7 separate regions of the Homo sapiens genome follow, and regions 1, 2, 3, 4, 5 and 7 are each linked to region 6. Evidence: promoter capture Hi-C in 16 types of primary human blood cells and fetal thymus (Javierre and others, 2016). All regions are on one chromosome and are shown on one strand. The core of a region is centred on a gene start or on the middle of the fragment in contact, and the rest is flanking DNA. Distances in the headings are between cores, read along the strand shown.

Region 1 (4,060 bases), core at 41-2,540, 1.8 Mb before region 6:
AAAAGGTACTATGTAGAAACGAGGAGGTCTTCAGCAAATAAAGCTTCGAGAAAAATAATGAAAACGGGACTGGGGTAGGGCAGAAACCAAGTATAGCTGAGATGGGGGAGGGGAAAAGAAGGAGGGCAGGAACTGGAGGGAAATGAGAGTGTAGAAGCCCCCAAGCCTGAAGAACCTAAAAGAGATATGAGTGGTCCAACTGCTGGAGAAAAGCTAAGGGCCCGTGAGGGTCCTGAAGCAGGGACCAGCACTGAAGGACCCCAGGGTTTGGGTGACCGGAAGCAGAGACCCCAAACACGAGACCAGAAGGGGGCGCAGGAGACACCCCGTAGGAGAGAATGAATGGGGAAGGCGGTCCGGGGGGCGGGGCAAAGGAGGGGCCCCGGGATGGGCGGGGCACAGACCCCTTTCCAAGTCCGAACCCCTGCCCCGAGAGCCCGGAGAGAAGCGGCTCCGCGCCTCCCGCACTCACCGCCGGTCTCGTCAGTAACATAGGGAGTCGCCATCTTGAAAACGCAAACCACTTCCGGCGTGAGCGGGCTGGGGTCCCGCCCCCCTCCCCACCGGAAGTGGAGTCCCGATCGTAGCAAGCCACCATCTTAGTCTTAAAGGGAGAGTGCACCATTTCATGGGCGGAGGTGGAGGAGGAGGAAGAGTGGAGAAGCTGAAATAGTTAATAAAATAAAGCCGTGGGCTTTTTACTGCCACCGATACCATTACTGAGCGCTTGCTGCCTGTAAAACAGTCCTCAGGGAGCCAAGAGAAGTTCCGAGGCACAGTCCCTCTCATCCCCAGGAACTCCTCGTACGTCCAGGACCTGCGAGGGAAAAGGGCGCAAGGCCCACCTGCACCCAAAAAGGGGGCCTTATAAATGAAGAAAGGAAGAATATCCAGGCTCTGGCCTGCACCCAGATCTCAGAGCGGCTTGGTGACGTGGAGCAGACAAACTCCAGGAACGCACTGGGGCGCACAAGTGTTTCTAGGGACGGTTGGAGACCCTATCTAACCCTAAGAAGGTGGGGAGGTCGAATTCGTGTGCCGATTGCTGTCGGCCAACCCACTCAACCACCAGAGACCCGCGGGAGGGGCGTGCAAGGCGGAGGGCGCCGCGGGTCGGTCACCTGTCTCCGTAGCCGCAGGGCTGCCGGCAGCTTCCATGGCCGAAGAGGCAGCGGACCAGGTTGGGCGGGCGGCCCTGGCCTGGCTCTGCCCCGCTGGGCGGCGCCGGGGATTCGGCGGCGAAGTGATGAGGGCCCTAGTTGCTTCTCGCCCAGACCTCCTAACCCTGAGTGCCTCCTCGGGCTGGGCCCTAGGGTCAGAGGGCAGGGTGAAAGCTTCTGGGCGGACCTACTTAGTATTCTAATTAAACTCGTCCAACCGCTGAGGATCTAAAGCGGGGCAACTCGCCAATAATCCGGTCCCGTAGTGTCACTCCATTTGTAGTCCTGCCCTGCGCCGTACCTCCCTATTCTGCAGACGAACCCATATGGTCTCCCTCCGCCGCCCATTTCAGCAACTGTTGTTCCTTCAGGGCTAAGTCCTGTTAAACTTGTTTCCCCTACAGCCTGAGAGGAGCCCGGCTGCAGGTTCCTCTCCTCAGGTGTCAACTCTGCCCTCCTCCACCCTCATATAGCTTTTTCCTTATCAACCCTTTTACCTTCCTGCTTATATCCCCACTTTGGCTTAGTTTAATGTCCAGCAGTACCCCTGGAACCAGGGAGGAGGCAGGAGGTAAGTATTGGTGACTACCTCCAACACTAGGCAGCATGTCCCATTTAAAAAACAAAACAAAACCCAGGCGCGGTTGCTCACGCCTGTAATCCCAGCACTTTGGGAGGCCAAGGCGGGTGGATCACGAGGTCCGGAGTTCAAGACCAACCTGGCCAAGATGGCGAAACCCCGTCTCTACTAAAAATACAAAAAAATTAGCCGGGCGTGGTGGCGGGTGCCTGTAATCTCAGCTACTCGGGAGGCTGAGGCAGAGAATTTCTTGAATCTGGGAGGCGGAGGTTGCAGTGAGCCAAGATCGCTCCACTGCACTCCAGCTTGGACGACAGAGTGGGACCCCGTCTCAAAAAAAAAAAAAAAAAAAAAAAAAAAAAACTAAAAAACTGAGCAATGGCTGACTAGGACCTTTATAAGACAAATTAGGCCTCAGAAGTTTTCTGGGGGCCGCAGCTTGCCTTCCTTCCCATCCTCCATGTCTGTGACTTCCACTAGAGGCCAATTCAGAATGTCTGGGGGTGGGGCTCATTTAAAAAGTATTTCCAGGCCGGGTGCGGTGTCTCATGCCTGTAATCCCAGCACTTTGGGAGGCCCAGGTGGGCAGATCACTTGAGGTCAGGAGTTCGAGACCAGCCATGGCCAACATGGTGAAATCCCATCTCTACTAAAAATACAAAAATTAGCCGGGTGTGGTGGCGAGTGCCTGTAATCCCAGCTACTCGGGAGGCTGAGGAATGAACCTGGGAGGTGGAGGTTGCAGTGAGCCAAGATCGTGCCACTGCACTCCAGCTTGTATTATAGAGCAAGACTCAGTCTCAAAATAAATAAATAAAAAGTATTTGCATACGATACACTGTTATTGCAAGTGTTGTGACACTGTGGTCTTAAACCCTTGCTCTCTTTTCACCGATTGTACTTCAGCCCTGCAGGGTCTAACATCTTGTCCTTAACCTTGTTATGATTAGACGTGAGAGTGTGGGATGAAGCCTCTAAGAACTAATGGGATACGTTGGTCTTGACTGAACTACCTCAGGAGTGGTCTCTGCAGCTTTCAGAGGCTGCTCAATAGACCTTTGTGCAGGAGGGAAACCTAAAGTCGCCCCTGTTCACTACCAACCCTAGGCCCCCTTCCCACCCCCAGACATCCTGCCTCAGCACTAGGGTTGACAGGAAGTGAAACTCAATTGTCTGCTTAGTAGACCTGCCTGGGACCCAACCCGGGGCCCCGGATGTGGCCCCCCACCCTGAGGAGGAACAGGGCAAAAAAGGCCGGGGAGAACAGGCTGTTGTTTTTTCCTTTCCCTTTGTTCATTGCGGTTTCTTTCTTTCTGATTTTTATGATGTGGTTGATTAAAGAAATGAGCACCTGGAACCGTAGGCATTAAACGCCTCCTTCTTAGATGTTTCTTGGCTTTTCTTCCCCCACCCACACCCCCCAGTAACTGACTTGGGGTATGATGGAGCACAGATCCTAAAGAAGACACAAAGAAGTCTAGAGTAAGACTGATTCCACCTTATTCCTTATTCGAGAGATAACATTACACCCCACTTTGAAGTACCAAAAACTATCTTAAAAGGAGTGTCTTCAACTTTATTTAGGGACATATCTAAAGACGATAGAGTGAGAAACACAGGTAATACATAGGGTGGCATTACTTTGAGCATTCTTTGCAAGGAAAGCTGAGTGCCTTAGAGATTAATATCGTTCCAAGATTTCTAAATGAAAGATCCAGGGACAGAAAACTGATAGGCAGAGGTGTTAGGGGACCTATTCTTACATTGTATGTTTGTTTAAAGTAGCTCAGAGCAGAGAGGCTTTACACACATTGCACCACTCATTGATATAGTCCCTAAACTGGACTATGTTTTTGCTTGTATTGCAGAACTAAGTACAGGACTTAGTGTATAAAAGGCCTTCAGAAGAGTTTGTTTACTATGACTAAGGAGGTCATAGAGGAAGGAGAGATGAAGCTTTGCTAACAGTGAAGAAAATACTGTAAAGACAGGATGGGGAGTGTCAAGGGCCTTGTTTTTTTTTTTTTTTTTTTTTTTTTTTAGACAGAGTTTTGCTCGTGTCACCCAGGCTGGAGTGCAGTGGCATGATCTCGGCTCACTGCAACCTCTGCCTCCCAGGTTCAAGCGATTCTCCTGCCTCAGCCTCGCGAGTAACTGGGACTACAGGCATGTGCCACCACGCCCGGCTAATTTTTTGTATTTTTAGTAGAGACAGGTTTTCACCGTGTTAGCCAGGATGGTCTCAATCTCCTGATCTCGTGATCCGCCTGCCTCAGCCTGCCAAAGTGCTGGGATTACAGGTGTGAGCCACCGCGCCCGG
Region 2 (4,287 bases), core at 240-2,739, 1.6 Mb before region 6:
AAATGAAAAAATGTGGCAAAGATGACAAAGTTTAAAAATTTCATGCAAGTTAATTTTAAGCCATTTTTCTCTATTGACTCCCCTACATTAGCCTGTCTACTCCTTGAGTAAAAGGATAATCTCTTCTCCCTCAGCAATTACAGCCTTAGGTACAAAGGCTGAGAGAGGATGCTAAACACATGGGGCTGATTCCCGTGACCCTTTGCATCCCATGGAAAAGGAAGAAGCCTCAAAACACTCCTGAACCATTACCCTAAAAACCAGAAAAAGAAAAGTTCAAAGAAGCCCAATCTTCCCAACCCGCCCCATCCCCATAGCACCTCACCCTACCTGAGGTGTCTTGGGCTGCAGAGGCACCAGCCCTGATGGTGTGTCAGCCAAGACATGGAAGTGAGAGGTAGGCGGAGGCCCCATTGGGGTTGGTCGACTCTCAGCATCCACCTGGTAGTTAATAAGACCCCACTGTTCTAGGAAGGCATGGACCCTGTGCAGAGAGAGGCAGAGACAGGGTCACACGGATAGCCAGAAAGGTGCACGAGGAAGAGGAAAAGTGGGGGGTAGAAGGGGCATAAACCCCCTCCCCACCCAACCCCGGCCTTTTCCTCTGTTCATTGTACTCCTTAAGAAATCTCACCTACTCCAGTTGTTCATTTATCACCTAAATGCCAGTGACACCCAAGTCTACATCTTCAGCCTGGGCCAATCTCTATATCTACCTACCTACCGAACATTTCTTCCTGAATAGCTAGTAAAACTGAACCAGTTTCTTTCTTTTTTTCCCTAAGAGAGACTGAAGTGCAGTGGTGTGATCACCGCTCACTGCAGCCTCCACCTCCAGGGCTCAGGGGATCCTCCCACCTCAGCCTCCTGAGTCACTAAGACCACAGGCACGTGCCACCATGCCTAGCTAATTTTTTTGCATTTTCTCTAGAGATGGGGTTTTGCCATTTTGTCCAGGCTGGTCTCGAACTTCTGGGCTCCAGCAATCCTCCCACCTTGGTCTCCCAAAATGTTTGGATTATAGGCATGAGCCACCACACCTGGCCTGAACCAGTATCTTTCAATTACAGACATGCTCCTTCTTTGTCCTATATTCTACACTTCAGAGAATGCCATTGCTAATCCCTCAAGTCATTCATTCCCCAAACCTGTACTTCACCTTTCTCTAGAGGTGCTTTTTTCTGTCTGCTCCTCTGTGTTCCTTGCTGGCATCTCTACTGTTGCCAAAACACATCCATAGGCAGGCATCCTCATGTACCCCCTTCCCCTCAGCCACAAGACCCACCTCATGATGGCACAGACATCACCCGCTAGGTTTCGGCGGCAGGCGGTAGAGGTAAGATACTCTTGGGGGTTCAGTCGGTAAGTGTCAATCATAAAGTTTCGATAGGCCAGGTAGCTTAGAAGAAAGAGAGAGAGAAACAAGAAGAAGAAAAATAAATGTTTGTTAAAGGGCTAAAGGAAAAAATGGTAAGAGAGCTAATGACTTCTCCTGCATGATAAAGATGGAAAAAAGTAGATTATTTGACTCTACATGCTGAGTGCCTGCTATGTGCTAGATGAAAGGGTTTCAAATATGTCTTACTTTTCCTTGATGGGGTTTTCTTTAAATGAATTATCTCCTTGGCTATACTTAGGGATATTTCATACAATTTTTTTTTTTGAGATGGAGTTTCCCTCTTGTTGCCCAGGCTGGAATGCAATGGCATGATCTTGGCTCATGGCAACTTCCGCCTCCTGGGTTCAAGAGATTCTCCTGCCTCAGCCTCCTCAGTAGCTCTGATTACAGGCATGTGCCACCACGGCCGGCTAATTTTGTATTTTTAGTAGAGACAGGGTTTCTCCATGTTGGTCAGGCTGGTCTCAAACTCCTGACCTCAGGTGAGCCTCCTGCCTCAGCCTCCCAAAGTGCTGGGATTACAGGCATGAGCCACTGCACCTAGCCATTTTATACAATTTTTAAACAAGGAATTAGAAGTTAAGAAAATACTCATTTCCAAACTCAGATGTTAAAAGGAAGTCCTTATTCATGCATATAGCTAGTCAGCATACCACGGTAAAAAACATATGTTTTGAAGTTGAAAAGATCTAAGTTCAAATCCCAGTTCTACCATGAGGACCTTGGCAATTTACTTCGAATTTTTAAACCTCAGTTTCCTCATTTGTAAAATGGAATGTCTGTTGAGAGGTCTATAAAGTACTAGTATAGTGCCTGGCGCATTGTAGGGGCTCAAAAAAATGGCAGCTATCATGTGGTACAGTGTAAAGTTTCAGATCATGGGCCAGATTAAAGGATTCAGATCCTGGTTTTATTTACTAGCTCTGTGACTTTATGCAGGTGACTTGACTCCTCTATACCCTATCTGTCAACTGAAGATGATATCTACCTCTAAGGTTGACGTAAAGATTAAATTACTCAATGTAGGTTGGACATTTAGTATAGTGCCTGGGAGATACTAAGCTCTCAATAGATGCAGGCAATTATCATCATTTACTATTTTTTTTTTTCTGAGATGGAGTTTCACTCTTGTTGCCCAGGCTGGAGTACAATGATGAGATCTTGGCTCACTGCAACCTCCACCTCCCGGGCTCAAGTGATTCTCCTGCCTCAGCCTCCCAAGTAGCTGGGATTACAGGTGCGTGCCTCCACACCCAGCTAATTTTTGTATTTTTAGTAGAGACGGGGTTTCACCATGTTGGCCTGGCTGGTCTCGAACTCCTGACCTCGTGATCTGCCCGCCTGGGCCTCCCAAAGTGCTGGAATTACAGGCGTGAGCCACCATGCCCAGCCATCATTTACTATTTTATACCAAGAGTTCAGTTCCTACTCCAACCCTGCCTGCATGTCATGTTGAATTCATTTCACCTGATCACTACTTTCTTTTCACACATACTGCTTTCTCCAGGAAGAGAAGGAAGAGAGAACCATAGCAAGCTATGAAGAAAAAACACGGAGGGACCCCCAGAGAGGGGAAGCTGTGGAATAGCTGGGAAGAAAACTTGTTCAGTTCTCAGTCTCACCCACCTCATCAATGTGGTTATCTTGAAGTATTCCTAACCAAAGAAGACTGCCATGTCTTATCCAAAGCCAAGCAGGTTTGGCCTGAGGCAAAATCTTTTTTTTTTTCTTGAGACGGAGTCTTGCTCTGTCGCCCAGGCTGGAGTGCAGTGGCGCAATCTCGGCTCACTGCAAGCTCTGTCTCCCAGGTTCATGCCATTCTCCTGCCTCAGCCTCCCAAGTAGCTGGAACTACAGGCGCCTGCCACCACGCCCAGCTAATTTTTTTTTTTTTTGAGACGGAGTCTCGCTCTGTCACCCCGGCTGGAGTGCAGTGGCGTGATCTCGGCTCACTGCAACCTCTGCCTCTCAGGTTCAAGTGATTCTCCTGCCTCAGCCTCCAGACTAGCTGGGACTACAGATGCATGCCACCACGCCCGGCTAATTTTTTTTGTTTTTGTTTTTTTGTTTTTTTTGAGACGGAGTTTCACTCTTGTTGCCCAGGCTGGAGTGCAATGGCGTAATCTCGGCTCACTGCAACCTCCGCCTCCCGGGTTCAAGCGATTCTCCTGCCTCAGCCTCCCTAGTAGTTGGGATTACAGGCACGTGCCACCACGCCCAGCTAGTTTTGTATTTTTAGTAGAGACGGGGTTTCTCCATGTTGGTCAGGCTGAGCTCGAACTCCTGACCTCGGGTGATCCGCCCGCCTCAGCCTCCCGAATTGCTGGGATTACAGGCATGAGCCACCGCGCCTGGTCTTTTTAGTAGAGATGGGGTTTCATCATGTTAGCCAGCATGGTCGCGATCTCCTGACCTTGTGATCCGCCCGCCTCGGCCTCCCAAAGTGCTGGGATTACAGGCGTGAGCCACCACACCCAGCCTTGTTCATTAATTTTTTTAGATACGGGGTCTTGCCGTGTCAGCCAGGCTGGAGAGCAGTGGTGTGATCATGGCTCACTGCAGCCTCAAACTCCTGGGCTCAAGCAATCTTCCCATTTCAGCTTCCGAAGTAGCTGGGACCACAGGTATGCCCCACCAGGCCCAGCTAATTTTTTTTCACTTCTTTAGAGATGGGAGTCTTGCTATGTTGCTCATGCTATTCTTGAACTCCTGGCCTCAAGGAATCCTTCTGTCTCAGTGTCCCAAGTAGCTGGGATGATTTACAGTCGTGAGCCACCGTGGCTCCTACACTTCTTTCCCAGTGAGCCCTCTCCATCCCTTAATTTATATAAACTGGTCTTCTATTAGTTCCTTCTCTTGTTTTTCTATTAAAACCTACTCTCAGGAACC
Region 3 (3,797 bases), core at 402-2,901, 1.6 Mb before region 6:
CTTGAGCCCAGAATTAGAGATAAGCCTATGGAAACATAGCAAGACACTGTCTCTACAGGGGAAAAAAAAAAAAGAAACTGAGCCTTAAAGAGATGAAATAAATTAAGCAGTAGATCCAGGATGCAAAATCCTCCCAATTCCTGTGCATGTGCTCTTATTGTAAGGTGCCAAGAAAAACTGATTTAAGTTACAGCCCTTGTTTAAGGGGCACTGTTTCTTGTTTTTGCACTGAATCAAGTCTAACCCCAACAGCCACATCCTCCTATACCTAGACATCTCATCTCAGGAAGTGGTGGTGGGGGTAGTCAGAAGGAAAAATAACTGGACATCTTTGTGTAAACCATAATCCACATGTGCCGTAAATGATCTTCACTCCTTATCCGAGGGCAAATTCACAAGGATCCCCAAGATCCACTTTTAGAAGCCATTCTCATCCAGCAGTGAGAAGCTTCCAGGTAGGACAGAAAAAAGATCCAGCTTCAGCTGCACACCTCTGTCCCCTTGGATGGGGAACTAAGGGAAAACGTCTGTTGTATCACTGAAGTTTTTTGTTTTGTTTTTATACGTGTCTGAATAAAAATGCCAAAGTTTTTTTTCAGCTTCCTGTCTGTCAAATGAAGACATTTCGTATGTTAGATAAGAGATCTGCTCCTCAGCAGTGGATACTCACCTTTCTGTGTTCTGACAGTGCTACTCTGTCCCATGCAGCTTTCTCTAGTCCTACTATTACTTCTATTTCTTTAGAACAACCATAGCGCATAGTCCTTTTCATTAAGGGTTTTAGTAGGAATCTACAAGGCAACCAATTGGGAATAACAAAAAGAACCTACGTGCTTTAGGACTTATAAAAAGCCCTATAAGCCCTCCTTCAGAGGCCAAACACTGAAACCTCCAGATGCTTCTGAATTCATTATCTTAGAAAAGTCATCAAATCTTTTTATTTTTTCACGGTAAGAACTCTCAACAAACATGTCTTTCTGAACACTTCCCTTAGGTGCTCCATCCAGGTGCCTGTTATTGGAACAATAAAGTCATGTTACTTCATTAGGAGTCCGGCCTCTAGATTGCGAGGCCTTTAAATGGATGATCCCTCCGGTGTCTGGCTGCCCAGTTAGCCCCCGTTACCAGCACCCTTGGTCTTCTTCCACCTGTCTGCCCCTCCCTGTTCTCCCAGCTTCGGAGGACGACTGGACCGGCTGGGCGGGTTTCGCCAGCCGACCCAGGGATCCGAAGAAGGGCGCACCCAGCCTCCCCGACCTAGGTGTAGACACTGCCCACCCGCTGCGGCTCCACTCTACTCCACCCCTGCCCGCTCGACTTTAAACCTATTTCCCCGCCGTAGCTCCGCCCCTCTCCCCTCAGCCCGCCCCTCTCTGTTACTGGCTCTCGCTCAGCGTTCTCGGTGGAAGTGGTTTTTCCGGGAGAGACCACGCTTCCCCTCAAGCTCCCCAACGGCTCCGCCTTCCCGCCGGAGCCTGACCCTTCCCAGAGTGCCCGGCGATTCCGGCGTGCGAGGCCCTTGGAGGGCAAGGCCCCAGGGCCTGGCTTAGGAGCGCGAGAGGCAGGCTGGGAATTGTAGTTCGAAGGCCCTCGAGAGCGGCTAGAGTCTGGCGGCCGAGAGGACTAGTTGTCCCAGCGTGCCCTGCGCCTCAGCCCGCGCGCTCGCAGCTTCTCGCTCTCGCCTGCCTGCCCGCTCCCTTGCTTGCTCGCGCTTTCGCTCGCCCTCTCCTCGAGGATCGAGGGGACTCTGACCACAGCCTGTGGCTGGGAAGGGAGACAGAGGCGGCGGCGGCTCAGGGGAAACGAGGCTGCAGTGGTGGTAGTAGGAAGATGTCGGGCGAGGACGAGCAACAGGAGCAAACTATCGCTGAGGACCTGGTCGTGACCAAGTATAAGATGGGGGGCGACATCGCCAACAGTGAGTGCGGCCTCGGGGGTCGGGGAATCAAGGCTGATAGGGAAAGGTAACAGGCTGGCCCGGAAGGGGCTGGAGCGGAGGGGTCATGCGGACTGAGCTACTGAGGGGCCCGCACCGGTCCGCTGGGCACGGCGTGGTGGGAAGACCCGGTGTCGCGCCTGGGACCTGAGCGGGCAGGCCCAGGCTGAAGTCTATGGAGGTGCGGGTCGGCGACCAGGATGAGCGCAGAGAGGGGACCCTGGCAGGCTCCGACCCGAGGCCGTTTGTTAGGAGGCAAGACGTGTTTTCTCTTGTTCCTATCCTTCATTCCCGATTATTGCTTCCTCTGATTCTGGCAGCGGCGAGGCCACCTCGAAAAGGAAGCGCCCAGCTATTGGCGACAGAAGTGCCCCTCTGTTTTTGTAGCGTCTCCGGGGCGTCAGGAGCCAAGCCGGCACGTGTTGCTGGGTCCCATTGCGGATGGCTGGCCCCCTTCTTACTCCGCTAGTGTCCCTGACACCAGCTTCCCCACCACCAGCTTCCCCACCACGTGCTTTGCTGGAGCCTTTCCTTCTTTACTTCAGCTCTTACCCTGGTGGGGGCCCCCTTCTACCTTGGGCCAGCTAAGGAGACCGTTGGAGAGCACTCCTGGAGCTTCTAATGCAAGTCTTGGAGATATATATGGCTTTTCTTGAAGTTACTCATTACTACCACCTTTCCAATCTGTGCAGATAGTCTTAGTTAGCATTCACATTTGTTGTTCTCAGTGACTTGACAACTCAAATGTTTTGGGGTCTCCGTCTTATCCCAACTAGGCAAGCTTGTGAACATTACTGGAAAAGGGAGGACTGATTTTAGGATTTTCACAAGTCATCCTTACTCCAGGTGTGCTCTGACGATCTCAGCAGTTGCCTGTCACTCTAGGCAGATGCCACTTTCTCTTTTCTCTCTTTCCAGTTAGCCTTTCCATTTTATTCCAGTTAGGGAGATACAAACTGCTTGTCATTGTGCTTTTAAATGGTTTTAACAGCAAAGATGGTGGGGAACAGGTATTTAGGATGCCTCCCGTCCTGTGGGTGAAAATCTGAGTTTTACCAGCTTTCAAAGAATCACCAAAACTGAGATACCAAAAGTCAAACCTGTGCTTTATATCACAGTGGACATTTAGTATCGTACCCTGGTTTTTGGTGCCTTTTAGTATTTGAGATACTAGTGGTTTGAATCAGAAAATCTCTTACAGTTTATAACTTTGGCCTCATATTTCTTTTAGATAAGCCATGATCCCCCGAAATGAAACCCAGGGACCTTAGATTAAGTTTCCTTGGCTTATGCACTTGTTTATGAGGAAATAAGTCTATATAGATTGAGATTCCTAACACCTAATTAGAGTGTCTGAGAAAGGAATGCGGTAACATTTAACAGTGCATCGGCTTCGAGTCAGCAATTCTGTCTACCTTCTTGTCCCTGATGCCTATAAATTTCATCTAGTCTTTGCGTGTATGTGGGGATACCATGGCAAGAACCCTCTGAAGTTCATAACTCTGTCCTGTCACACCAAAGGTAGCATCTTTGGAAAGTCTGAGGCCTTGCCTAGGGAGATGGATTGTATATACCCAGTTGTCACATAATGTAAGGAAGAGAAGGGAATGTTGACCTTTCAGCCTCAGGGCAATGGCACCAGGGAGTATTATGGAAACTCTTAAATTCAACTTCCAGGTATTCCTTGGGTGGTAACTAGACAATGAATACATACAAGGCTGACATGATGGGATTCTGTCCTCAGGGGTACTTCGGTCCTTGGTGGAAGCATCTAGCTCAGGTGTGTCGGTACTGAGCCTGTGTGAGAAAGGTGATGCCATGATTATGGAAGAAACAGGGAAAATCTTCAAGAAAGAAAAGG
Region 4 (3,851 bases), core at 259-2,758, 1.5 Mb before region 6:
TCAAGACCAGCCTGGCCAATGTAGTGAAATCCCATCTCTACTAAAAATGCAAAAATTAGCTGGGTGTGGTTGGCGGGCGCCTGTAATCCCAGCTACTTGGGAAGCTGAGGTAGGAGAAATCACTTGAACCCAAGAGGCAGAGGTTGCAGTGAGCCAAGATCGTGCCACTGCACTCCAGCTTGGGCGATGCAGCAAGACTCTGTCTCAAATAAAATAAAATTAAAATAAAATAGAAACAGGTTCCATTTATTTTACCTTCTAAATATGTCTCAAATATGCTCACTTTTCTCAGGGGTGAGTGCAGGCTGAGCTAGAGCCTTCATTTGGAAGGTAGTGGTATTTGTGAGCACCATACGAGGTAATATATAGAAAACTGCACTAAAGCATCCACACTGCAGTCCGGGACCTTAAACCCTTCTATGGCTGCTTTCTGTGTTGCAGGATATGACCCCTTTTCTCTCACCACTCTTCCATATTCACTACATTCTGTCCACTGGCATTCTTTTAGTTCTTCCTGGTAGTTATTTAGCCTTGCTCATGGTGTTCTCTGCCTGGAATAATCTTTCTCTTCCACACTTTCTACTCATTCTCCACCTAAATGTTGGTTCTCCTGTGGAGTTTTCTCTGACCACTTGTTGCCTACCACATCCTATGCTCTCAACTTATTATGTGAAGTCTTTCTTCCCCTGTGGCATATAAACACATTAAACACAGATAAGGAGTCAGTTTTTAAAATTTTTTTGCATAAATGGGTGTTTTTTACAGTAGTTATGTGTACATGTTTTAATCTTTAGACTGGTATATAAGCTTCTTGAGAGTTAGGGCTGTGTATTTTATTTATTTGTATCTTCTCTACAAGGCCTTATAGATGTGATCAACTATGTGTTGAATGAATTTATAAAATCTCATAGGCTCATGATTCTCCTTCCTACCAAATCCCAATTTGCACAGGTTCTCATATTTAAATATCTGGAGAGCCAAGACCAGAATTGACCAGCAGAGGGCAACCAACAACTATGTTGTGAAGGGAAGAAGGCTCCATGGTTTACAAAATGGAGGATCTGGACCAAGAAGGGAAATATGGCAGAGGTAGTTTGCTACTTGAAGTTCATCCCTTTTACTCTCAAATGCTTCTCTTGTAACTTTTGTGGGTGAGAGGCCGAGGCTTCAAACCTTCATATACAATAGATCATTTTAAATTTCTACCATCCCCATGTACCCACCCCATCTCCCCAATTCCTTCACCCTTCCTCTTCCACTCCAACAAATCCTAACTATTCTTTTACCTTTCTTTACCTTGCATGATCTGGCCCCCTCTCTCTCACCATTCTTACATATTTACATATCACCCACTGGCATTCTTTAGTTCCTGCTACAGTATGTGGCCTTCCATATTTTCCCTGAAGTAACCTTCTCCACTTAAGCCTGTAGTCCCACTCATTTAAACCTCCTAAGGAACCTTCCATAAATATCCTTCCATAACACCTTAAAATTCCTCTACTCCACTGGATCAATCCTTCATGAATTCAGTACAAACAAAACCCCACCTTCATTTGACACTTTCAAATTTCCACATTGTTTTCTACTTCCTTTTATTTTTCGAATAAAATGTATACCTTTCTGCCTCCAGTTCCATACTATCAGATACCCCGTCATCTGGTTTCTGCCTCCTGAAGTGTTTTGGTTTTTTTTTCTTTTTTACTTTTTTACTTTTTATTTTTTTTTGAGACAGAGTCTTGCTCTCTCACCTAGGCTGGAGTGCAGTGGCACAAGCTCGGCTCACTGCAACCACCACCTCCCAGGTTCAAGCAATTCTCCTGCCTCAGCCTCCCAAGTAGCTGGTATTACAGGTCCCTGTCACCATGCGCCTGGCTAATTTTTTTTTTTTGTATTTTTAGTAGGGACGGGGTTTTGCTATGTTGACCAGGCTGGTTTTGAACTCCTGACCTCAAGTGATCCACCTGCCTCAGCCTCCCCAAGTGCTGAGATTACAGGTGTGAGCCACCGCGCCCGGCCTCCTGAAGTTTTTTAGACGTTAATAGAAACCACTGGACAAATTTAATAATCTCTTCTCAGTCTCCATCCTTTCTGTGTTTGAAACAACATTGATTTCTTACTGGCCTTCAGAAACACTTATTGTTTTTCTCCTTCTCAGTATACTGCTTCTCCACCTCATTTGCTTTCTTCTTCCTCCTGTGGAATTTCCACCAAAGCTTCATTCTCCCGAGACAAAATCTCAGAGCCACCTTTCCAGGTATGTCCTCAGCTAAACCATGGTCCTTTATCTCCAGCTGTTCACATCTCTGCACAGCTGACCTAGTGTCACCTAATATGCAAACAAAGCTTCTCTTCCTCTCTCACAATCATCGTTCTGAACTTTTCCCACTTTTGTTGATACCACTATTCACTCAATTCCTTCATTTCCAGCTCTAAGAATTAATTATCTGAAGTTTGTTTTCTCCCAAGCCCATCACACTGATTCATCAGTTGCTTCCCCAAGCACATCATCTTAATTCATGCCTGTTACGATGGCCTTCAAGGTGCCCTAGTTTCACCACACTGAAATCCACCCTATATTAGTGTGATTACACTGCTTTCATCATATTATTCCCCTGTCCAGGAACTCAGTTCCCCATCTAAACAAACACATGATCCTATTATCAACATACCCTGCCTAAATTGCCCGTTTTTCTTACCCTTACATCTTTCCACTAAGATACCTTCCATCTAATCTGGCTGGTCATCTCCGTGTGACAGCCCAACCCCTGCCATCCCTCATGAAGTTCCTTCTCTTTACTAACTAGGTAGTCTCACCATATAATGATCTTTTCAGCAATAAATTCTTAGATCTTAAAAGTATTATTATTTTGCCTGGACACGGTGGCTCACGCCTGTAATTCCAGCACTTTGGGAGGCCGAGGCGGGTGGATCACCTGAGGTCAGGAGTTTGAGACCAGCCTGGCCAACATGGTGAAACCCCGTCTCTACTAAAAATAAAAAAATTATCCGGGCATAGTGGCGCATGCCTGTAATCCTAGCTACTCAGGAGGCTGGGGCACGAGAATCGCTTGAACCCCGGAGGCAGAGGTTGCAGTGAGCCGTGATCGCACCACTGCACTCCAGCCTGGGCGACAGAGTGAGACTTTGTCTCAAAAAAAAAATTAGTCTCACTTTGTCGCCCAGGCTGGAGTGCAGTGGTGCGATCATGGCTCACTGTATAACCTCTGCCTCCCAGGGTCAAGGGATTCTCCTGCCTCAGCCTCCCGAGTAGCTAGGATTATAGGCGCACGCCACCACACCGCCTTATTTTTGCATTGTAGAGACAGGATTTTACCATGCTGCCAGGCTGGTCATGAACTCCTGACCTCAAGTGATCCTCTCACCTCGGCTTCCCAAAGTGCTGGGATTACAGGCATGAGCCACTGGGCCTGGACTTAAAATTATTTTTATGTAACTAACTTTTTTTTTTTTTTTGAGACAGAGTCTCACTCTGTCTCCAGGCTGGAGTGCCGTGGCGCCATCTCGGCTCACTGCAACCTCCGCCTCCTGGATTCAAGTGATTCTCCTGTCTCAGCCTCCGGAGTAGCTGGGACTATAGGCACATGCTACCACGCCCAGCTAATTTTTGTATTTTTAGTAGAGATGAGGTTTTACCATGTTGGCCAGGATGGTCTCACTCTCTTAACCTCGTGATCCACCTGCCTTGGCCTCCCAAAGTGCTGGGATTACAGGCGTGAGCCACCGCACCGGCTGGTAATGTTTTCTTTTTTTTTTTTGAGACAGAGTCTTGCTCTGTCACCCAGGCTGGAGTGCAGTGGCGCGATCTTGGCTCACTGCAAGCTCCACCTCCC
Region 5 (4,232 bases), core at 899-3,398, 1.8 Mb before region 6:
CTTCTGATCATAGTTGGTGAAACTTTTGTGGGACTTAGACTTGACTTGGGTATTTCCCAGGCAGGTAATGGAGTTAACAGGTCCGAAACTATGCGGTGATATCACTGAGGAAGAGATTTGGGGAAGAGTGAGAAATTCCATTTCAAAAGCTTGGCATCACCCCTTGTTCTTTGTCTACTTCAAAAGCCCAGATTTCTGTGCTGTTAGAAAGTTGGGTCAAACTATGAAGTATCTGGGGAAGATGGTGAGTAGAGAAAAAGATACAGAGGTGCAGTAGCCCACGCCTGTAATCCCAGCACTTTGGGAGGCTGAGACAGGAGGATCACTTGAGCCCGGGAGTTCGAGGGTGCAGTGAGCCATGATCTTCCCACTGCACTCCAGCCTGGGCAACAGAATGAGACCCTGTCTCCAAAAAAAAAAAAGACAAAGATTGCCAAAGCAGAGGAGTGGAGTACCCTCCTCCCCACATATTTTTAATGGTCTGCTAGCCTTCTTAGTCCCTCATAGATTGGAGCCTATTGGATTTTCCCTTACTGTACTTCCTCCTTTTCTGCGTCTCTACCAATATATTTTATCACTACATTTCTTTTTTTTTTTTTTTTTTTTTTGAGACGGAGTCTCACTGCAACCTCCACCTCCCAGGTTCAAGAGATTCTCCTGCCTCAGCCTCCCAAGTAGCTGGGACTACAGGCGTGCGCCACCACGCCCAGCTAATTTTTGTATTTTTAGTAGAGACAGGGTTTTACCATGTTGGCCAGGATGGTCTCAATCTCTTGACCTCATGATCCGCCCACCTCGGCCTCCCAAAGTGCTGGGATTACAGGCGTGAGCCACCACACCCGGCCATCACTACATTTCTTAATTACAAAAGTTAATATGTACATATTTTAAAATATGGAAGGTGTACAGCAGTTTAAGAAGTATAAATCCTCCCACACATACCTTATTCATATTTCATTTAGGAAGGTCAAGGATCAGAGACAGCAAATCAGACTAATCTTGCTTTGCTTTGGGGGATGTGTCACAAAAGGCAATTGTGTTTTCATGTTCTCATCAAACTCTAGTCTTATTCTTTCTACAGTTTTCCCTTCTGGGATGATACTCTGTTATTTATTGTGTTCCTTTCACAGTTCATTTTGTCTTCTACCAAGTCCGACAAGCAGAGGGCTGTACTGTGTGTTATTCACCTTGAGTACACACAAACACACACACCCCAAGTTGTGTGCTGGGTGTCCTAGGAAGTGCCCAAAGAGATGGAACAAAACTTTATGGGGAGAAAGGATCATTTTGGTTGGGATAATTGTTGGCATCTCTGCTAAAGAAAGGAATTTCAGACCCTTATCTCAAATTCATGGTCTCTGGATGTTCATGGTCTCTGCATGTTCACATTACTTGACTATCCCTTTCTTATCCATGATGATGATGGTTCTCCTAAGAGGCCCCTGTATTTGTCTTTCTTTTCTTTTCTTCTATTTTTAGAGACAGGGTCTTGCTTTGTCACTTAGGCTGGAGTACAGTGTGTGTCTTTCTGTAGGGATCTGAGAAGCTCCAAGCTTATCTGGATTTGAAATCGGTTTTCCTCTAAATCTCAGAGTCAGAGTACAGCTGGGGCATTTCATACTACCACCTTATTAATTGAATTTGTCCTTACTAGCTTTAAAAGCCCTCTGTTGTACCCAGCCTTTGTACAGCGCCCATTGGAAACCTCGGTTTTTTCCCCCAAGGAACTTTTCTCACCTGCAAGCCAGTCCTAGAGACAGTTGTGTAGGAGTATGTGTGTGTGTTTTTAGACGGAGTTTCACTTTTGTCACCCAGGCTGGAGTGCAGTGGCATGATCTCGGCTCACTGCAACGTCTGCCTCCTAGGTTCACGCGATTCTCCTGCCTCAGCCTCCAGAGTAGCTGGGATTACAGGCGTGCACCACCACGACCAGCTAATTTTTGTATTATTAGTAGAGACGGGATTTGACCATGTTGGCCAGGCTGGACTCTAACTCCTGACCTCAGGTGATCCACGTGCCTCAGCCTCCCAAAGCACTGGGATTACAGGAGTGAGCCACCGCGCCTGGCCGTGTGTGCGTGTGTGTGTGTGTGTTTTAATCCTATCTAATTTTTCCAACAGTTTTTTGCATCCTAAGAGAGTTTAGGAGTAGAATTATCAATAAGGAATTTCATACATAGACCTGGAGTTGCAAAAATATATTTGGAGAAGAGAGCTTTCCCATTGCCCTTCAAGTCATACCTCATATCTTTTAAAATTTTTTTCCTGGACAATCCCTACTGCATAACATACCTCATATCTTCTAACTCTTACTTTACCTGGGAGCAAATATTGCTTATTGGTATGAATTTTACTTCTGAGAAGGAGGCATAGGGTAGAAGAAGCAAGCGTATAGTTTGCTCCCTAATCCTAAAGCATTTCAGATTGGAAGGTAACCAAAGTGTGAGACAATGAACTTATAATAAGGAAATGCAGCAGCCCTCTTGGAGGAAGGATACCATAAAACCCTACATGGTATACTCCCACTTCCGTTTTGGGAAAGATTTAGCCATTGACTCAACAGTAACTGAACTGAATAAGGAGCTACCCAGGTGAACAAAGTATGTGTACATTTCTGGGCAAGGTTGTAGCTTCTGTTCAGGGACAGTGGGTACCTTTTCAGAGTGTCTCCTGGTTCTGTGGTGTTATGGCTCCTTTTTTTAAACTTGTGTTTCTCAAGTCAGGAATTAATAGATAGTGGCCCAAAGCTTTTGACCGTTCAACATCAACTGAAAATTCAGCGAACTTTGTTTTTAGCTATAGTTGCCTCAGTGTTTGGGTGGGAGGGCCACATATTGGGTGTGATTAGGCCATCTGAGGCATAGTAACGGGTGACAGGAAAAGCAGTTAGCCCATGCGAGTTGCAATAGTACCTTGTGGGCAAGATCCCAAGGGGGCCCTCCATCCAAGGGAGATCACAGAGGAGCCAGGGAGAGAATTGATTCTGAGGCCTATTAAAAATATTCCCAAATGGGGCCGTGTGCGGTGGCATGCGCCTGTAATCCCAGCACTTTGGGAGGCTGAGGCGGGTGGATCACGAGGTCAGGAGATTGAGACCATCCTGGCTAACACGGTGAAACCCCGTCTCTACTAAACAAAATACAAAAAATTAGCTGGGCGTGGTGGTGGGCGCCTGTAGTCCCCCAGCTTCTCGGGAGGCTGAAGCAGGAGAATGGCGTGAACCTGGGAGGCAGAGCTTGCAGTGAGCCGAGATCGCGTCACTGCACTCCAGCCTGGGCGACTGAGCAAGACTCCGTCTCAGGAAAAAAAAAAAAGAACCCAAATGGAATTGAGTAAGATCTGTCCAGATGGTACAGAAAGGGAGGAGTTGATTGGGGGAGAGAAGTAGAATTACTTAGCCTTAATTTAGGGAGCATTTAATGAGCACCTACTAGGGATCAGGCAGCATGCTGTGCTCTGAAGATTTTAAGATAAACTCCCACTTTTAAAGAAGTTCATAGTTTAGCAGAGCAGACAGACACAATTTATATACTGTGATAATGTGATACATACTATTATAGAAATACAGTCTTTTTTTTTTTTTTTTGAGACGGATTCTTGCTTTGCTGTCCAGGCTGGAGTACAGTGGTGCAATCTGTGCTCACTGCAACCTCCGCCTCCCGGGCTCAAGCAATTCTCATGTCTCAGCCTCCTGGGTAACTGGGATTACAAGCCTGTGCCAACATGCCCAGCTAATTTTTGTATTTTTAGTAGAGACGGGGTTTCACCATATTGGCCAGGCTGGTCTCGAACTCCTAACCTCCAGTGATCCATCTGCCTTGGCCTCTCAAAGTGCTGGGATTACAGGTGTGCGCCACCACACCTGGCCAGAAATACAGTCTTAATACTGTGGGACCCTACGGGCCTCTAGAGAATGATTAATTCTGTGGGGGAGAGGGTGATTATGTAATTTCACTGAAGTAACATTTGAGCTTGGTCTTATGAGATATATAGAATTTTGCTAGGCAGACAAGTAGGGACGGGCATTCCAATCTTACCTAGGTCAATAATAGGGAGTTTGTACTACCATACTGATAAGAGGTAAGTATGCTTTTTGCCTCTTGGAGAAATATAAGGGAAAGGGTGCGAGATGTGGAAGGAATCTCATTTAATCCAATGACTCATTAGGTAACACTGGATCAACAAAATGAAGAGCTGAGCCAAGTGGTAGAACTCTCATTTCAAGATTTTGG
Region 6 (4,105 bases), core at 1,074-3,573:
CAGGGTCAGCCCCGGGTGGGTTTCAATGCGGCTCTGGGGAGGGGGTGGGCAGTGGGGGAAGTGAGGCTTCCTATCCGCCCCCTCTCACTTCACATTTAAATATTCTGCACGTTCCAGCCCCCGCGGACTCGCGTACCGCCCAATCCGCCTTCACCGCACGAAAAACATCACTAGCCTGCTCTCAGCCCAGGGGACGACTAGTCCCTGGCGAGAAGCTGCCTGCAAGGTCACTGTCATGCCACCTGCCCCAAGTGCTCAGGGGAAACTGAGGCTTCCTCATCCCCTTCACCTTCAACGTCGCTCTAAACACGGCAAAGCCCCGTTTCCATGCTCCCAGAGTTCAGCTGAGGCTGGAAGTGGGGTCCTGGGCTTCTCTGGGAGCAATTTTCTAGTCACTCTGATCAAGGACGTTACTTTCCCAGAAAGCTCTGAGGCTGAGTCCCTCTGAAATCAAGTCCTTTCTCCTGTCGCACAATGTAGCTACTCGCCCCGCTTCAGGACTCCTATTCTTTGCCCCAATCCTTGACAGAGGGGTGAGCTTGGTTCATCCGCCCACCCCAGAGAAAAGCTTCCCTAGTTTCCTGGACCTCGCTCCTCCACCCCAAGCTGAGCATTCCAGGTACCCTTCCCTCCCTGTTCTCAAGCCCTGACTCAACTCACTAGGGGAAGCGCGGAGCTCGGCGCCCAGCAGCTCCCTGGACCCGCTGCCAGAAGACAGGCTGGGGGGTCCGGGAAGGGGCCCGGAGCCAGGAGGCCCTCCTGTGCTCTTGGTGAAGATGCCGCTGATAAACTTGAGCATCTTGCGGTCACGAGTGGATGCTCGGCCCCCCTCCCGGCCCCGTTTCAGCCCCGGAGCTGGAGGCTCCAGAGTGATTGGAGGTGCAGGCCCGGGGGGCTGCGCGGAAGCAGCGGTGACAGCAGTGGCTGGACTCGGAGTTGGTGGGAGGGTTAGCGGAGGAGGAGAGCCGGCAGGCGGTCCCGGATGCAAGTCACTGTTGTCCAAGGTCTTACTCTTGCCTTTCCGAGGGGACAACTTCCCTCGGGCTCCAGCCCCAGCCCCGACCCCACCAGAGGTCGAAGCTGTAGAGCCCCCTCCCCCGGCGGCGGCGGCGGTGGCGGCGGCAGAGACCGAAGCTCCAGTCCCGGCGCTGCTCTTTGACCCCTTGACCCTGGGCTTGCCCTCGCTTTCGGGCCATGACAGGCGGCTACCCGCGCCCTTGCCCCCGCCGGCTTTGGCTCCACTCGTGGTCACGGTCTTGCAAGGCTTGGGAGCCGGCGGAGGAGGCGCCACCTTGAGCCTCCGGCTGCCGGTGCCAGGGTGCGGAGAGGATGAGCCAGGGATGCCGCCGCCCGCCCGGCCTTCGGGCTCCGGGCCGCCCCAGCTCGGGCTGCTGAGCAGGGGGCGCCGGGAGGAGGTGGGGGCGCCCCCAGGCTTGGGGTCGGGGCTCAGTCCCCCGGAGAGCGGGGGTCCCGGAGGGACGGCCCAGAGGGAGAGGCGGCGGCCGGGAGCGGGGGAGACTGGGCGGGCCGGACTGGCCGGAGCCGGGGACAGGGCTGGGGGCTCCGCGCCCCCGGTGCCCGCGCTGCTCGTGCTGATCCACAGCGCATCCTGCCGGTGGAAGAGACGTTCGTGCCGCTTCTTGCCCGGCTCCTCCGCGCCTCGGGGGCTGCCAGGATCCCCAGTCTCGGAGCCTCTGGCACCGGCGGCGCCGGCCGCGGCCGCAGACGGAGAAGGCGGCGGCGGAGGCACCGACTCGAGCTTAACCAGGGTCAGCGAGATGAGGTAGGTCGTTGTCCGGCGCTGAAGCGCGCCCGCGCCCCGGCTCATGGGGCCCGGAGACCCCCGAGCTGGGGAGGGGAGGGGACTCCCCCGGACTGCCTCAGGGGGGCCCGGCCATGGGGCCGCCCTGCTCGCTGCCCCCAGCCCCCGGACCCCGCTGAGCCCCCGGCCCGGCTCCGCTGTCGCCGCCGCCTCCGCCGCCTCCGCTTGCGCCCCCCTCCCATCACATGGGGCGCCCCCTCCCCATGCTCCCCGCCCTGCGCCCCCACCCTCTTGGAGCCCCGGGACCTTGGTGCTGCTCCAGGGAGGCGCGCCGGACCGTCCACCCCGGCCTGGGTGGGGGCGCTGAGATGGGTGGGGGAGGGCGGGGAGGACAGTAGTGGGGGCAAATGGGGGAGAGAGAGGAAAAGGGAGCAGAAAAGGGGACCGGAGGCTAGGGGAAACGAACCTGTGCGGGGGAGGCAGGGGCGGGGAATTGGGACTCAAGGGACAGGGGCCGCGGATGCGGTCGGAAAGAGGGTCTAGAGGAGGGTGGGAAGCTAGTGGGGCTGGCCGTGCGGGGGATTCGCAGGGGCGCGGGGAGGATGCTGGGGATGGAGATACAGGAGGCGGCGGGGGAGGAAAGAGGGAACGGGAGGTGGGTGGGAACCCACGGGTCTGGGGTCTGGGAGGGGAGGGGCGTGAGATCCGGGCGAAGAGTCCGGGGGCCTCGCCTGGGCTCGGCTTGGTCCGGATGCGCGCTGTGTCCGGGCGCTCCCCTCACATTGAGGAGGAGGCGGCCCCCAGGCCCCCCCACCCTATCTCCCCCCCACCTTTTCTCCACCAGCACCGATGTCTGCGAGGGCGGTGCAAAATCCAGGGCTGGATTTCTCTCCCAAATCCTGGGCTGGATTTCCTGGGACTTGGACTCACCTCCTCCAACAACCTAGCCCCCTCCTCTCGCGCACCAAGGTTAGGAAGCGCGATTGTGAGGTATGGCATTTAGGGATAAGGGTGAAAATCGATCTATTGGGTGGACAGGGGCCGCGGTAAACAGAGCAAACCCAGGGTCACTGCCAATTCTGGGGAAGATGAAGTGGGAAAGTGGGGGCCCTGAAATCCCTTCCCCCAGGATCTCTTGTCTCCCCCAGGTACCTGGACGGTTCCCGTTCTCATGACCCAGCTCCCTTTCCCACTCACACCACCACATTTAATACTTTGACGGGGCCAAGACTTGAGCTCGACTGTCCCAAAGTGAACTTGGAAAATGTTCCCCAGGGATGGGGACAAACATGGAACTTAGCAGGGTAGGAGAGAAGGGAGAGATCTGAGTGCTGGAGGAGCCCAGGCCACAGGGTAAGTCAAAGGCTCCAGCTCTAGGAGGAGGGAGAAGGATGTGTCTTAGACTGATACCCCCCCATGCCAAAATGCATCCAGTCTCCATAGCAACCGTAGCTCCAAGAGTGCCTCAGAAACAGCGGGCAGAAGCAGAGAGGAATCCGTGTGTATGGTGGGTAGGGGACCAACCGCGGGATGCTGAATTAGTGGAGGCACTGCCCTGACACCTGGCTACCCACAGGTGGAGGATTTCACTCCCCAAGTATAAGGACCCTTCAGTTGAGGCAGTGAGAGCCGGCCTCTTCAGGGTTCCCTTTCAGTCTCCTGAGGTTTGCTGAGTGGGATTCTTTCAGAAGATTAAAGAGGAGGCAGGCAGAGTGAATGGAAACCGTCTGCTCCGTGTCCCCCACCCCTCTAGGGGTCTTGGAGTTCAAGGCTCTCTATCCTCCAGCCAGGTGAGAATCCTGAAGTGGTTAGGCCAAAGTGGAAAAGAGGTTGAGACCCCTTGGGGGTGGGGTAAGATGGGCGAAGGAAGGTCTCTCTGCAGCCTTGGAGACCCCTTCCCGGGACTTGGGGAGTCACAGCAGTCCCCTGATTTGGCGTCCCACCCTCCTGACGCAGCTGAGACTATAATAAGTGCTGCCGTGGGCGGCTCTTGGAGGCAGGAGCCCGCAGCGTGCTTGGCCTGGTGGGGGGCTGAGGGTGGGGGGGCTGAGCCAGGATGCCAGGAGCCCTTTGTTCTCCCAGAGGCCTGTATCCAATCCCTCCAATGTTCTGTCCTGGGGCTCAGCAGTTTCTCCCTCCCTCCCTACAGAACCAAGATGACACCATCCCCAGGACAGGAGACCCTTCAGTAGTGTTTTTTGATGGAGAGGGTGAAGGAGAATTGTTGGCTCTGGCTTAAACTTCCCTCCTTTGATGGCCTCGGTTTTCCTTTATGTTCAATGGGAACAGAATACTAATTCTTAGAGAAGGAGTAAAACAAATCACTTATGAGGAGTGAAGCCT
Region 7 (3,713 bases), core at 66-2,565, 1.6 Mb before region 6:
GGGTTTCACCATGTTGGCCAGGCTGGTCTCGAACTCCTGACCTCAGGTGACCCACCTGCCTCGCCTCCCAAAGTGCTGGGAGGTGTGAGCCACCAAGCCCGGCCCTATTTTACCAATAATAACACTTCGAATCCTCCGAAGAGCCCTATGAGGTAGGTACCATTATCATTATTTTACAGATGAGGAACTGAGGCCCAGGAGAGATAACTAAACCTGCTGAGGGTCACTAACTAGGACCTGGTAGAACCAGGATTTAAATCTGAGTAGGCTGTCTGAACCCCATCCACTTGAGCACCCTCTGAGATAATTTAGCCCCTTCACCGGTACGAGATCTATGGCGGCCTCCAGAAATGGTTGCTAACTTACTATTATCGTTATTTCTGTCGTACAATTCATTTCTACCTTTCCAATAAACTTTCCCCAACCAGTGAACCTCACTTACTGCCCATAAAGTTCACCTGTGCCTCACCACCCTGCCATCGCCCGAGTTTTCTGCTCTGATCTAATCCTCACACGCCTGTGCAGCACCAGCTTCCAACACCAGGTGCACCGCCAGGGTATTTACTGATCCAGTGAGTGAAGGTGGGCCCGGCCGGGCTGGTTCCCATCCTCTGATCAACGCCTAGGGGAACCAGTGAACTCCAATGCTGACCATAAGAGTTTCAGAAAGTAGGGCTGGAAAGCCCAGCCCTCCGCTCAGAGACCTGTGAAGATCGAGGAGGATGGCGCATATGCTGCCGCAGGATGGAAACCTCGATCAGAGAAGGCTGGGGCAGGTGACTGGGCTTAATTGCAAATTTTAACATTTACTTCAGCAACCAGCTCATTAAAAACAAACTACTCTGAGGCCTCTTTTTTTTCTACCAAACCGCGAGAGGAAGCAAAAGAGAGTGCAGCGGTTCTCCCCGGGGCCGTTAAGTGCTTCCAGCTATCTGACCTCCACGCTGCCTGCTGCAGCCTCAATCTTTCCCCAGGTTCTGAGTTCTTTCAGCAGTAGGTCCAGGAAAACAGCCGCCCCGCCCCCTCCACCTCCCGAGACTAGGAGCCCGCCAGGGTTAAGTAGGAGGGATACCCTAGGGGCCCCGCAGGGTTTTTAGGGTTGGGGTGGATTGGAAATTGTTCATTGCCTTTCAGTTCCGGGACATAAAGCGCGCTGGAAGGACACTGAGTCACCAACCACCGCCATGGGCCGGAAGCCACCGCCCTCGCGTCAACTGCAATCTAGAGCGCGGCGCATCCCGTGAGCCCGCGGGGAACTACGACTCCCGGCATGCTCCGCGGCCACCGGAATTAACCCTTCAGGGCTGGGGGCCGCGCTATGCCCCGCCCCCTCCCCAGCCCCAGACACGGACCCCGCAGGGTGAGTTTTTGGGGGCTGAGGAGGGCCATTTTCTTTAAGATTTAGTGGGGGTGCGTGAGTGTGTGTGTGTGTGTGTGTGTCGTGTGTGTGTGATGTATTTTGTAAAAATGGGACAATTTGCAGTCATGAGATTCAGACGCTGTTTTGCGAATGGGAGACCCAGCATCAACCCCGGGGCCTAAGTGGAATCACTGCTATCTTCCTCAGAATGCTACCTAAATCCTTTCCTAATTTACCCCAGAACAAAAGTAGCCTGCAATCCCTCCCCACTCCCAAACGCCCCCCAACTTGGACTCTCTCCCAGCGCCCCTGGCAAGGTTTGTGACCTGGCCCCTGAGTCAGGATTTTTATTATACCCCTGGTTGTGGGGTGAATACTCATGGAGCCATAGGAGCGCCCACATCCTCTTGGATTAGGGAATTTAAGCCGTCTCCCAGAGCCTGCCCTTCTCCTCAGGTGCCACCAAAGGGTCCCCACAGGTTCAGCAAGCACCCTACCTTTTGTTTGTCTTGAATGACCGTGGGCTTGTGGAAGGTTTCTTCCATGGAAGAATGGGTAGCAGATGTTAAACCTGATCTTTGCCCCCACTCCTGCCCCTAAAACAACACTGGGCACAGGAGACAATGAGGGATGTCATACTCCTGTTTTTATGACTATTCTTCCTTTATACTGTGAATAGTTCCAGTTCTTGGCTGGGTGGGGGCTCAGGAACTACAAGTATTAGGGATCATTAGACTCTAAGGTTAACTACCCCTGCTCTTTACAAAGCCATGGTCAGAAGGGAGTGGAGGGGCTGGGCAGATGGGCTTCTTGTTTTTGTCATTGCTCCCAGACCACACTTTAACTTGTTCCAGTTCACACAAGCCTCCCTGGCTGCTACCCCTCACCCCACCCTTCAAGAAGACTAAAGCTGCTGGATCACCTGCTTTGCCTCACCACCCCCATCTCAGTGCCACTGGCAAGCATCCTATCCTCACCCTGGAGGTTAACTACCTCATTCTGGGCAGTCTCTGGCTTCCTCCCCTACCCCTAAAGGAAACATTGTTCTTTTCTGGTCAGCCTTTGGGGATAAGGGGACAGAGGGAAGAAGACCTTGGGGCAGGAGTCCTGAACCATAGGAGGCCAGGGGAGTGAGGGCAGGCGGTTATATCTCTCCTCTACCTCATCTTTGCCACAGCCAACTGGCTCCCTGCCCCTGCCCCCGCCCCTTGACATCCCAGACTCCCTGGCTATTTAAACAGAGATGGGTGCCCCCATCCGCACACTGTCCTTTGGCCACCGGACATCATGCCTCCCAAGAAGGATGTTCCCGTGAAGAAACCAGCAGGGCCCTCCATCTCCAAACCTGCTGCTAAGCCAGCAGCAGCAGGGGCTCCTCCAGCCAAGACCAAAGCTGAGCCAGCTGTCCCCCAGGCCCCTCAGAAAACCCAGGAGCCTCCAGTCGATCTCTCCAAAGTGGTGGTGAGTCTCTGGAAAGTGAAGATAGAATTGGAGGGGGTGGTTTGAGGGTGGGATACAGCCTAGGGGATTAGGGGGTATCTAGAAGGTAGGGAATCAGTGAGCCCTGGAATGAGATTGGGGCTTTCCCTTAGTCCCCCATTTGGAAGCATCCAGTCTTATGACTCTGCTGTTGTCTTTGCTGTTCTCTCCCTCTAACCTATAATCATGTGTGTACAGCACATACACACTCACTTACCCCCTGCTGGAGGCAGGGACTCTTAGATGGGGAACATCTGGGTTCTGAGAACAGTTTCAAGGTGAAGGGAAGAGAGCTGTTGCCTGCCCCTGGCTGGTGGTTCAATTCAAAAGGCCTGCAGCTCTGAACTCCAGGAGGGGAGGCTGAAGAGGACAGACTTGTTAGACAATCACAGCTGGGGGCCAGGGGTAAATTTAGCCTTTGTTCAGCCCCCAGTTATGTGTGGGATGCAGGGCTCAGGGCAATGGAGGGAGGGAAACAGGTGGCATGGGATTAACCCTGTTCCCAGGAAACCCTCCCCACTGTAATTCCTCTTCTTGGGATTCTCCCAAGGCCCAGAGCTGGGAATGGGACTGAGGTGGCTGGGCTTCCAGCCTGGTCCCTTTGGGCCCCTCCTCAGAAGTGGCTGCCAGTTGGTTGGGAGGAGTGCGGGAGAGGGATTGAATAAACTCTCATCTCTCCCCACCTGCTTTTTTCTTCCACAGATCGAGTTTAACAAGGACCAGCTGGAGGGTGAGGAGAAGCTCATCTAAGGCCACTGTCCCATCCCCAATCCCCTGGTCAGATTCTCTTTCTATTCCCCTAACCCCAGTCCTGACCTTGAAACCTCCCATACTAGTCCTCTTTTCCTCCCTTGTTCTGTTCACATAGTTTCTG

Evidence for each region. Contacts are between HindIII fragments. The CHiCAGO score rates a contact against its expected background, and 5 or more counts as called.
Region 1: a contact is called between the fragment with the promoter of PYM1 here and the fragment with the promoter of AGAP2 in region 6, in 1 of 17 cell types (monocytes). The highest score is 5.5, in monocytes.
Region 2: a contact is called between a fragment that was not itself captured here and the fragment with the promoter of AGAP2 in region 6, in 1 of 17 cell types (monocytes). The highest score is 6.9, in monocytes.
Region 3: the fragment with the promoter of PA2G4 here is called in contact with the fragment with the promoter of AGAP2 in region 6 in 1 of 17 cell types (monocytes); the score reaches 7.8 in monocytes.
Region 4: a fragment that was not itself captured here is called in contact with the fragment with the promoter of AGAP2 in region 6 in 1 of 17 cell types (monocytes); the score reaches 5.4 in monocytes.
Region 5: a contact is called between a fragment that was not itself captured here and the fragment with the promoter of AGAP2 in region 6, in 1 of 17 cell types (monocytes). The highest score is 8.9, in monocytes.
Region 7: a contact is called between the fragment with the promoter of MYL6B here and the fragment with the promoter of AGAP2 in region 6, in 1 of 17 cell types (monocytes). The highest score is 9.0, in monocytes.

Annotation. Positions count from the first base shown.
Region 1 is chr12:55,926,604-55,930,663 of GRCh38, forward strand. PYM1 (PYM1 exon junction complex associated factor) reads right to left here and starts at 1,291. Exons shown (of 3, transcript NM_032345.3): 1 at 1,122-1,291. The coding sequence starts at 1,158. It also overlaps a transcript of DGKA not described here. RefSeq lists a silencer at 233-382 and enhancers at 401-981, 473-692, 733-902, 982-1,562. The HindIII fragment of the contact is 1,291 bases long and covers 42-1,332 here.
Region 2 is chr12:56,173,366-56,177,652 of GRCh38, forward strand. It overlaps SMARCC2 (SWI/SNF related BAF chromatin remodeling complex subunit C2), which reads right to left. Exons shown (of 29, transcript NM_001330288.2): 16 at 1,286-1,399; 17 at 331-484. Among named protein-coding and RNA genes, the nearest start is that of SMARCC2, 14 kb to the right of the region's middle. The HindIII fragment of the contact is 6,713 bases long and covers 1-4,287 here.
Region 3 is chr12:56,102,908-56,106,704 of GRCh38, forward strand. It overlaps PA2G4 (proliferation-associated 2G4), which reads left to right and starts at 1,652. Exons shown (of 13, transcript NM_006191.3): 1 at 1,652-1,918; 2 at 3,681-3,797. The coding sequence starts at 1,831. ERBB3 (erb-b2 receptor tyrosine kinase 3) reads left to right here. Exons shown (of 28, transcript NM_001982.4): 28 at 1-598. LOC105369782 (a long non-coding RNA gene) reads right to left here and starts at 1,512. Exons shown (of 2, transcript XR_944995.4): 1 at 1,381-1,512; 2 at 907-1,011. RefSeq lists enhancers at 1,347-1,696, 1,707-1,926. The HindIII fragment of the contact is 2,269 bases long and covers 447-2,715 here.
Region 4 is chr12:56,192,142-56,195,992 of GRCh38, forward strand. LOC107984468 (a long non-coding RNA gene) reads left to right here. Exons shown (of 2, transcript XR_007063330.1): 2 at 952-2,876. Among named protein-coding and RNA genes, the nearest start is that of TRS-CGA4-1, 3.7 kb to the left of the region's middle. The HindIII fragment of the contact is 1,406 bases long and covers 806-2,211 here.
Region 5 is chr12:55,975,205-55,979,436 of GRCh38, forward strand. All of the region lies in intron 1 of RAB5B (RAB5B, member RAS oncogene family), which reads left to right. Among named protein-coding and RNA genes, the nearest start is that of RAB5B, 3.2 kb to the left of the region's middle. The HindIII fragment of the contact is 1,194 bases long and covers 1,552-2,745 here.
Region 6 is chr12:57,736,419-57,740,523 of GRCh38, forward strand. It overlaps AGAP2 (ArfGAP with GTPase domain, ankyrin repeat and PH domain 2), which reads right to left and starts at 2,324. Exons shown (of 19, transcript NM_001122772.3): 1 at 661-2,324. The coding sequence starts at 1,828. RefSeq lists a silencer at 1,477-1,696. The HindIII fragment of the contact is 3,748 bases long and covers 567-4,105 here.
Region 7 is chr12:56,151,272-56,154,984 of GRCh38, forward strand. MYL6B (myosin light chain 6B) reads left to right here and starts at 1,316. Exons shown (of 8, transcript NM_002475.5): 1 at 1,316-1,360; 2 at 2,602-2,821; 3 at 3,542-3,569. The coding sequence starts at 2,648. It overlaps LOC124902942, which reads left to right and starts at 556. Exons shown (of 3, transcript XM_047429954.1): 1 at 556-776; 2 at 1,135-1,360; 3 at 2,538-2,626. The coding sequence starts at 723. The coding sequence ends at 2,572. The region is part of intron 2 of MYL6B-AS1 (MYL6B antisense RNA 1); the gene reads right to left. LOC124902943 (a long non-coding RNA gene) reads right to left here and starts at 2,602. Exons shown (of 2, transcript XR_007063328.1): 1 at 1,858-2,602. RefSeq lists an enhancer at 390-469. The HindIII fragment of the contact is 15,658 bases long and covers 1-3,713 here.